Linked DNA regions of Homo sapiens: region 1 is linked to region 2. The links are contacts of gene promoters, found by promoter capture Hi-C in blood cells and fetal thymus (Javierre and others, 2016). All regions are on one chromosome and are shown on one strand. Each heading gives the region's core, a stretch centred on a gene start or on the middle of the fragment in contact. The rest is flanking DNA. Distances are from core to core; before and after follow the strand shown.

Region 1 (5,227 bases), core at 321-2,820, 260 kb before region 2:
CTGGAAAAGACAAGGCAAAGAGGCATGAAATACCAAATTGCTGATTCAAGATGCGTACACACTGATCACCTTCTATGTTCCCAACACTGGCCTAGGCACTGCATGTGTCTTGGAGTTATCCCCGTCTCCTCTCTCTGACATCCTGCCACCCATCCATCACCAAATCCTGTTGGCTTTCCCTTCGACATATACCCACAATCTGACCATTCTCACCTCCTCCACTGCCCGCACCGCCCCCCGCCCCACCGTGGTCCAAACCACCATCATCTCCCACCTAGATCAGAGGTTAGTAAGCTATAACCCAGGGGCCAAATCTGGCCTGTCGCCTGTTTGTGTAAATAAAGTTTTATTAGAACACATCTATGTTCATGCAATTACATCCTGTCTGCTGCAGCTTTTGTGCTACTGCAGGAGAACTGAGTAGCTGAGACAGGTCCACTATGATGTGCAAAGCCAAAAATATTTACTATCTGGTCCTTTACAGAAGTTTGTTGACCCCTGGTGTAGGCTACTACAGTCACCTCCTCACTCTTCCTGCTCCTATCCTTATCTAGCCCCTATCCTCCCAGCCTAGTCTCCAGCCAGCAGCCAGAGGGATCCTGTTCAACCCTAAGTCAGATCACGTCCCGCTCCTGCTCAAATCCCCACAATGGATATCACCTCCCTCCAAATAAAAGCACAGTCCTCACAGTGGAACCTGGCTCCATGTGGTCTGCCCACCCTCAGGTTCATCACCTCCCTGACCTCATCTCCTACCCTCTCCTCACTACACTGCCCACACAGTGGCTTCCTGCAGCTCACTGCAGCCTCCGCCTCTCAGGTCAGTGATTCTCCTGCCTCAGCCTCCCAAGTAGCTGGGATTACAGGCATGCGCCACCATGCCTGGCTAATTTTTGTATTTTTAGTAGAGACAGGGTTTCACCATGTTGGCCAGACTGGTCTCGAACTCCTGACCACAAGTGATCCGCCCACCTTGGCCTCCCAAAGTGCTGGGATTCCAGGCATGAGCCACCGTGGCTGGCCTGGAATAGTTTTAGATTTACAGAAAAGTTGCAAAGATAGTACAGAGAGTTCCCATACACCCCACACCCACTTTCTCCTTTTGTTAACTTCTTACATTAGTATGCTGCATTTGTCAAAACTAATAAGCAGATAGTGCTGTGTTAACTACTGTCAATTACTTATTCAGATTTTTAAGGCTTTCCCTGTACTGTTCTTGGACTGTTTCAGGATCCAAGGTGGATATCACATGACACGTAGTTGTCCTGTCTCCTTAGGCTTCTCTGGTTTGTGACAGTTTCTCAGGCTTTCCTTGCTTTTGAGGACGGTGTGAAGGAGAACTGGTCAGGTATTTTGTAAAATGTTTGTCAACTGGGATTTTTCCGATGTTTTTCTCATGATGACACCGGGTTCCTGGGTTTTGGGAAGGTCACAGATGGGGAGTGCCATTCTCTTCATATCACATCAAGGGTAAATATTATCAACATGACTAATCACTGTTGATGTTGACCTTGATCACCTGGCTCAGGTGGTCTTCATCAGGGTTCTCCACTCCGAAGTTACTATTCCCCTCATCTATATTGTACTCTTTGGAAAGAAGTCACTATGCGTGGCTCACACTATGGGTGTAGTATCTACATAAGTTACCTGGAATTTTTCTGTGTGGGAGATTTGTTTAGTCTCCCCACTTATTTATTTATGCAATCATTTATCTACATCAGCATAGACTCATACATACTTATTTTATACTTTGGGTTAGAATCTGATATTACATTATTTATTTTATTATTCCAGCTTTTATTTTATTTTGCTCTCCTTTTTATTTATTGTTCCAGATTTGGCCATTGGGATCTGATATTATATTATTTATTTTATTACTCCAGCTTTTGTTTTATTTTGTTGTTCTTTTTATCTTTCTGGATTTGGCCATTGGGAACTCTTTTCAGTTGGATCCTGTGTTCCTCTGGCATAACGTATCACTTTGGGTTTTCCTGAGCAATTCCTTACTTTACGGTGCTAAAAGATGCTCTGGGATAATCATATAGTTCTTGGCCCAGCCCTAGAATCAGCCATTTCTCCATGGAGCTCTGGTTCCTTTTTCTTGCAGCGTGGTATTAGAAACTGTTATCTGAGTATCCTCATTGCTACAAGGGTGTCATCGTTCCTGGGCTCAGGTAACACAGCAAGGTCTTCAGTTTCCTTTTTTTTTTTTTGAGACAGAGTTTCACTCTTGTCACCCAGGCTGGAGTGCAGTGGGGTGATCTCGGCTCACTGCAACCTCCATCTCCTGGGTTCAAGCGATTCTCCTGCCTCAGTCTCCCAAGTAGCCGGCATTACAAATGCCTGCCACCACATCTGGCTAATTTTTTGTATTTTTAGTAGAGATGGGGTTTCATCATGTTGACCAGGCTGGTCTCAAACTCCTGACCTCAGGTAATCCCACCCACCTGGGCCTTCCAAAGTGCTGAAATTACAGGCGTGAGCCACTGCACCCAGACAGTCTTCAGTGTTTTTTAAAAAATTACAAAATATGGTTATTCTATCTGCTTGCAGGTGTGTTACGAGGCAAGGGGCAGGTGTCAAATAAATGATACCAATTATAGTCCAGACCCCTCTTTTCACCAGTGTGGAAACTAAAGCTCAGACAGGATCTGCAGAAAACTTCTGTAAAGAGTCACAGGGCATGGATGAAGGTAGGTGCTGGGATCGCAGGGGCCTTCCAACTTCAGCAGCGACGACCGCAATTTGTCCATTTGTCATATGCGCTGTAACTCCAGTGTCAGCTTTAGGGTGATGTTAGTCTTATAAAATGTGTGGGAGAGCATTCCATCTTTTTCTTTGCTCTGTAGTTTATGCTGGATGAGATTTATCCTTTCCTTGAAGTTTTGTTGGAACTCTTGTTTAAAACCAGTGGGACCTGGTGCCTTTTTTGGTGGGGGCACCAAAAACGCACTTTCTCTTTAATGATTTAACAAATTTTCATGATCTTTGGTTTGTTGTATTTATTTTTATTTCCACTTGGGCTAATTTCAGTAATTTGTGTCTTCCTGAAAAGTGTCAATCTCACCTAGATTTTCAAATTCATTGGTAAAACAGTGTGCCTGGCATTCTTGTAATTAAAAGAAACAACCTCCCCTGGATTTTAGTAATGTCCACCCTTTCATTCTGGATGTTGTTTATTGATCTCTCTCTTTTCCCCTTTGATTAAGCTTGCTAAAGCCTTATCTATTTTAACGGTCTTTCCAATTATTCTTATGAATTTTCCTGTTTTTCTAACAAATGTCATTTAGGACTGTAAATGCCAATCTGGACTGCCCTTCTGCATCCCACAGGTATGATACTTAGTACTCTTTTTTTTTTTTTTTTTTTTTTTTTTTGAGACGGAGTCTTGCTCTGTCACCAAGGCTGGAGTGCAGTTGTGCAATCTCGGCTCACTGCAACCTCCGCCTCCTGGGTTCAAGTGATTGTTCTGCCTCAGCCTCCTGAGTAGCTGGGACTACAGCGTGCACCACTATGCCTGGCTAATTTTTGTATTTTTAGTAGAGATGAGGTTTCACCATCTTGGCCAGTCTGGTCTCGAACTCCTGACCTCAAGTGATCTGCCCTCCTCAGCTTCCCAAAATGCTGGAATTACAGGCATGAGCCACCATCCCCAGCCGATACTTAGTATTACTGTTGTTGCACGTTGCTGATCAGTAAACTCAGTGACAAATACTTATCAAAACCTGTTCTGATTGAGCTGGTGACAGCTGGGGTTTCTCAAACTCTCCTGCTGTGGTTTGATTCCATTACTTTTTGTCTTTGGCTGCTTGGAGACATGAATGCAGAAATTGTTGACAAATTTGCGTTAGAAAAATGATGCTCATCAGGGCCCCGATGAACTTCCTGGCTGCTCCTTCTCCTCTGAGGCAGGTATATTTTTCAAGTGAGATTGCTTAATGCTGCCTCCAGACTAGCCAGAGAGGAGTCTACTCCCTGGGAGGGAAACCTGGGCCACATCTCTTGTGCTAAGTGTTTAACTTATCTTAAGAGCGCTAAAGAGGCTGTGGCCTGAATTGTATTAATGACCATTGGGCAGGATGCTTTGGAGAGAGTTCAGTGTTAACACAGTGACATATTATTTTCCTGATGGCTCCTAAAGCTATCAGGATAAATCACACGTTTAGCAACCAGGCTCATGTGTCAGGCAAGCAGCCATGGCTGCCCTGATTTCAGCAACTTCTGAGTCTCTCCGGCATGGTCTTTCCTAAAGCCCTGGCTGCATCTTGAAATGCTCCCCTTCCAGCCTGCCCGAATGCCTGGCCATTCCTGCGTCAGGCTAGGGATACCTTTTGCCAAAGATCTTTAGCGTTACCTTGTTTCTCCTGAAAGGCTCTTTCCTTATTTTTTTATTTTTTGAGATGGAGTCTTGCTCTGTTGCCCAGGCTGGAGTGCAGTGGTGCTATCTTGGCTCACTGCAACCTCTGTCTCCCGGGCTCAGGCAATTCTCCTGCCTTAGCCTCCCGAGTAGCTGGGACTACAGGCATGCACCACCATGCCCGGCTAATATATATATATATATATATATATATATATATATATATATATATATATATATATATATGTGTGTGTGTGTGTGTGTGTGTGTGTGTGTGTGTGTGTATGTATATATATGTGTGTGTGTGTGTATGTATATATATGTGTGTGTGTGTGTGTATGTATATATATATATATTTAAGTAGAGACGGGATTTCGCCACATTGGCTGGGCTGGTCTTGAACTCCTGACCTCAAGTGACCTGCCCACCTTGGTCTCCCAAAGTGCTGGGATTACAGGCATGAGCCACCATGGCTGGCCCCCTGAAAGACTCTTTTCTTCCATCCATTCAGTTGATGCATGTTCTCCACTTCCTAGTTCATCTCAAACTCTATTCTCCATGAAAGATAGACATTAGCAGAGAAGTCATTTGGCCTGGGATCAAATCTCCACATTCTTCTTACTAGCTGTGTGACCCTGGGAAAGGGATCTTTCTGGGCCTCAGTTTCCTCATCTGTAAAATGGAGATTGAAAAAACCATCTCCTTTGCAGGGCTGCTGTGAGGATGCGGTGAGATGGTTCATGCGCAATGCCTGGTGCAAAAGAAGAGCTTGATATGCGTCAGCTGTCGCACAAGTGAACCGCTCTGTGCCTCAGTTTCCCCATCTCTAACATGGGGATACATAACAGTACCTGCCCTCTGTGGTTGTTG
Region 2 (5,059 bases), core at 139-2,638:
TTTGTAAGGGATCTCCCTAACTCAAACATAATTCAGTGCTCAAATTCTTACATGATGTTTGTAAATCATCCTCCTGCCCCTCCGCCCTCGCTAACAGCTAGATTCCAATGTTCAGCTCTTCCACTGCACCTCGTAATTAAAAGGTACCTCTTACCGGGGTGATTTATACCTCCACGTTATATTTTAAAAAGTAATTGAAGATTACATAGCATTTCGGGGAAGGGGAAAGAAAAGAAAAGGGTATCCATAAAAACGCAGCATCGGTCTTGCTTTTTAAAAAGAATTCAGACCGCGGCAGGGTGCACGCTGTCAACTCTCAGCCTCGGCTTCGGGGAAGCAGGAACCTCGCACTGCAAAAGGCGCTTCCAGTTCAACAGCTGAGAAAAGCGCACTGAGTCTTTTGCGATAGGAGTACGTTCACCAGTCACGCTTTCCTAGTATTCCTTGAGCTTATAAACTATTTATTGCTGGGGGGGAGGCAGGCAGGAATATATTGAAGGAGCCTGGGCCAGCACGGCCGTTTAACCTCCAGACTTCATGACTAAAAAACAATTCCATTTCCCACTTTCTCCCATTACAACGAAATCCTTGCCGCCTTCTAAACACCCTTCGGATGTAAACTTTTCTAAGTTTCAACTCTACCCGCAGCAGGCGCCAGGATTCCCTGCCCCGGTTCAAAGCCCCAGACCTGAACCAGAGCGGGCCGAGCGCAAACGGACTTTTGAAAAGAAATATATCAATAGCTAGAAGGCAAAGTCTCAGCGGGCCGTTCCAGCCCCAAGCCGGGATTCCAGCGGTTGGCTCTGCTTCTTGGTTATCCCATAAACACTACCTGAGGGCTTGAGTTTGCGGACTGGGGGAGCGCCCCTTATCGCGAACCGCCGGGACCATAATCGAACAAAACGCCAAGGACCCAGCCGCGTCTACACCGCCTGCGCGCCATGCACTTGTCCCGCGCGCGGGAGAGCAAACTTCAGGGTCGTTGCCCCAAAGCGCATGGGGAAACTGGGGCCCCGAGCCTGGGAGAGCCTTTCCAGAGGGGGGCTCTGCTGCTGTCCCCTCTGCCCTTGTGCCTTCCTGGCCCTGGGAGGCCCGTGCGCCCCAGAACGTCCCGACAGCTGCGGAGGCCCCGCTTGGCGAGTGCCAGAAAGAGGCGCAGGGCGAGGGGGTCCCGGTGAACAACTCCCCCCGCCCGGCGAATCCCGGCGGGCGGCCTGGGGTGGGCGCCGCTGGCGGTACTCACCGCGCGCAGTGGAGAGGGCGCCCCGACGCGGTGCGGGCGGGCGGGCGGGCCGGTGCGGGTCCGACGAGGCCGGGCTGACTGCGGCGGGCACGTTGCTGTCTCTGCCGTTGCCGCTGCCTCCGCCTCCTGGGCTGCCGCGGCTGCTGCCTGCGCCGGGAGGACCGGCCCCTTCTCCTCCCTGGGCCGGGCCCTCCCTCTGCCCCCGCCCGGGTCCCCGCGCCGCTGCGTGGGCGCGTGGGGGCGCCGAGGCGCGACGCTGGGCTACGCGGGCGCACACACCCGGCGGCTGGACGCAGGGCGCGGGGCTCTGGCCCAGCACGTGCCGCCGCGCCGCTTCCTGAGCCTGCAGCCGAGCAGAGCGCGCTCACTCTCGCCGGTCCTGGAGGCCAGGGCCCAGCCTCCTCCCCACCCACCGACACCCCGCACCTCCTCCCTCCCCGGGGCAGCACATCCTCCCTGCAACCCAGGCATGACCCCTGTGAAAGGAACGACGGCTCGGAGAGGACCTCAATAGTGACACTAACATTCGTTCACTCAACCACCCATTCATTCATTCAAAATATATTGAGCATCTACTGTGCCAGGTACCACTCCTGAGAGACTCAGCTAGAACAAGACAGACTAGTTTTCTGCCCTCCCGGAACTTGCATTCACATGGAGAGGCAAACCATAAACAAATAACCAAGTAAAGAAGCAAGACAGTTTCAGAAAGTTAGAGTTACAGGGAGAAAAATAATATATGTATCTGCTGTTGGGGAGTGGAGGAGAGGCGGTAATTTTAGCTAGAGCAGTCAGGGAAGACCTCTCTGAGGAGGTGACATCTGAATTATGAGGAAGTGCCATTGGTGTGGTATTTAGGTGAGAACGGTTCAGGGGTCTCCCCTATGTTTCACCCATTTTACAGCTAAGGAAACTGAGGTCTCAAGAGCTTAACTGGTTTAGTGAAAGTGAGAGGTATAGCCCCCTCCACCTACATGCCCAAATCAAGGCACCCCACTTACTCCATCCTCTCATAGCCACCCCCCTTTTAGTCTCCCTGGCAATGAACTGTGTTAATTGGAGTCTATGCAGCCTTTCCTAGCCCGTCACCCACTCTCTAATGTCTATGAATTCCACCGTGGGACACCCAGGATGCTTCAATCCAAAAGCAATATCAACCACTGTCATTTCTTAAGTGCAGTAAAAGACAGGGCACCCAGGTGAATTTGAATTTCAGAGAAACGAGGAATCAGTTGCAGTATATGTCTTATGCGATTGGTTGTACGTACTTATATTTAAAAAGTATTTCTTTTGTCTCCGAAATTCCAATGTAACCGGGGGTCCTATATTTTTATTTGCAACCTTAAGCTCATCCAATGCCCAACTCTTCCTTATCTCATGTAATCCCCAAGAGAGACCCCAAGGTAGCTGCTGTCAGCACACTCATTTCACAAATGAGCAGGTCCAAGCTCAAAGAAGGCAGAAAGTGGCTGAGCCAGGAATGAAATTCAGGCCTGGCTGACTCCAAAGCCGTTGCTCTTGAGCCGTAACAGTCTTCAATTCCAGTTGTAAGTTTACAGGAGCTGATGAAGGTTAAGTTCTTGGGCCCCTGACTTGCTTGGACCCCTTTCTAAGGGGACTTAGAAAAGTGTTCAGATGGTGGCTTGTTGATGTAAAGTTTACAAAAGTCCTTTGCTTTGGACATTTGGCTGCAGGCCGTAGACACCGCTGTCTTTCCACTCCGATTCCCCACCCCCAACTTGCCCTTGAGTAGGGTGGTGTCAGGTGGCTGCTGGCATTTTGGAGGAAAGTTGAGTTGGGAATTTTGTGATGTTTGTGGTAATTTTCAGCTTCTTAAAATTTGAATTTGTTGTGATTTCTTTTCTTAATTTAAAGAAATAATCATTTTCTTATCTAATCTTGGACTCATAATTTTGTACTCTTTTTCTTGAATAGGGGCTGCAAATTATACATGTATCAGGCCTCACCATTCCCAGACCCACCTCTGGTCATAGCTTACTCCGCTTTCTACTCCCCAAACTTCAGACAGAAGCAAATGTATTCAGTAAACATGGTTGTTCTCTTCTCTGGGCCTGCCGCAGTAGGCTTGGAGATGGCTCTGCTTCTGTCTTCTAGAGGCAGAATGTACATATGTACTTGGCCTTGATTTTCTCATCACTAAAGTGAAAATAACAGTACTCATCTTATACTATTATTGTGAAAATTCATGGAGCTCATGCTCATAAAACACTTTCTACTATGACTGCAGCTGGCACTAGCAATTGCTCAACAAATATTATTACTGTACACACAGCTTCACTTCCCATAGTATCTTTGCTAAGTGCTCCAAGTCATTATAAATTGAGCATCTTAATGACCTTCAGAGGTGTTTAATTTGTCTTGGCCTGTGAACCTTAATTTTTTTTTCCTAAAGGAATAGACTGGAATAGGAAATATCAAGTGAATTGTATGCAGTAAGAATATATATACATACCTATACATATATAGTTACATATATACATATGATCCCCTATATATAGTTAAATGTATACATATGGTCCCCAATTTATGATGGTTTCACTTAATGATTTTTTTGACTTTATGACGATGTGAAAGTGATGTGTATTCAGTAGAAACCACAATTGAGATACCCATACAACCATTCTATTTTTCACTTTCAGCAAAATATTTGATAAATTTCATGAGATATTCAAAACTGTATTATAAAATAGGCTTTGTATTAGATGATTTTGCCCAACTGCGAGGTAATGCAAGTGTTCTGAGTGCATTTAAGGTAGGTTAGGCTGAGCTATGATGTTCAGTAGGTTAGGCGTATTAAATGCATTTTGAACTTAGGATATTTTCAATTTACAATGGAGAGATATATATGTATATATGTATACGTATATCATATATACGTATACATACATACATATATATATACACACATGTATCTGTATCTATATCTATATCCATATCTATATCTATATCTTTGGTCAGGATGTGAAATGTTTCTTCCTGTGGCTCATGGGGAAAAATCTTGAACACTTGTTAACCAAAGGTACCCTATAGAATGCAAAGGGTTAATCTATTTCCTTCATACCATTTTATTCCTTCCCCAGAATCTGGCCCATTATTTCATAAATTACAGACACACCCCAACGACCCTGAGAGATAAGCAGGAGGCAGGTGCTTATTAATTTTATTTTTCCTTCTCTTAGCGCTGTGATTCTCAACTCTGGGTGCACAGAATCTCCAGGGAGAGCTTTTAAAAATCTCCATGCTGAGTCCCCATCCTAGACCAATTAAACCAGACTCTGGGGTGGAACTGTGGCATCTGCCTTTTTTTTTTTTTTTTTTTTTTTGAGAAGGAGCCTTACTCTGTCGCCCAGGCTGGAGTGCAATGGTGTGATCTTGGCTCACTGCAACCTTCACCTCCTGGATTCAAGCAATTCTCCTGCCTCAGCCTCCCAAGTAGCTGGGATTACAGGCATGTGCCACCACGCCCAGCTAAGTTTTGTATTTTTAGTGGAGACAAGGTTTCTTCATGTTGGCCAGGCTGCTCTTGAACTCCTGACCTCAGGTGACCCACCCATCTTGGCCTCCCAAAGTGCTAGGATTACAGGCGTGAGCCACTGTGCTTGGCCGGCATCATCCTTTTTTAAAGCTCCCTAGGTGATTCCAATATACAGCAGAGGAAGAGAATCCCTATCTTTGGGAGAGTGAGACCTTGACCACAGAGTCACAGCAGATGAGCAGAAGCTGATAGGACTTAAGCCCCCAATGCTAATTCAAGACCCTGAAAATTCAGCCACCTTCCTATGTAGAAGCACCCCC

Evidence for each region. Contacts are between HindIII fragments. The CHiCAGO score rates a contact against its expected background, and 5 or more counts as called.
Region 1: a contact is called between a fragment that was not itself captured here and the fragment with the promoter of EYA2 in region 2, in 1 of 17 cell types (M2 macrophages). The highest score is 5.0, in M2 macrophages.

Annotation. Positions count from the first base shown.
Region 1 is chr20:47,155,504-47,160,730 of GRCh38, reverse strand. All of the region lies in intron 10 of EYA2 (EYA transcriptional coactivator and phosphatase 2), which reads right to left. Among named protein-coding and RNA genes, the nearest start is that of MIR3616, 8.8 kb to the left of the region's middle. The HindIII fragment of the contact is 3,283 bases long and covers 1-3,211 here.
Region 2 is chr20:46,891,172-46,896,230 of GRCh38, reverse strand. EYA2 (EYA transcriptional coactivator and phosphatase 2) reads right to left here and starts at 1,388. Exons shown (of 16, transcript NM_005244.5): 1 at 1,244-1,388. The HindIII fragment of the contact is 20,535 bases long and covers 1-5,059 here.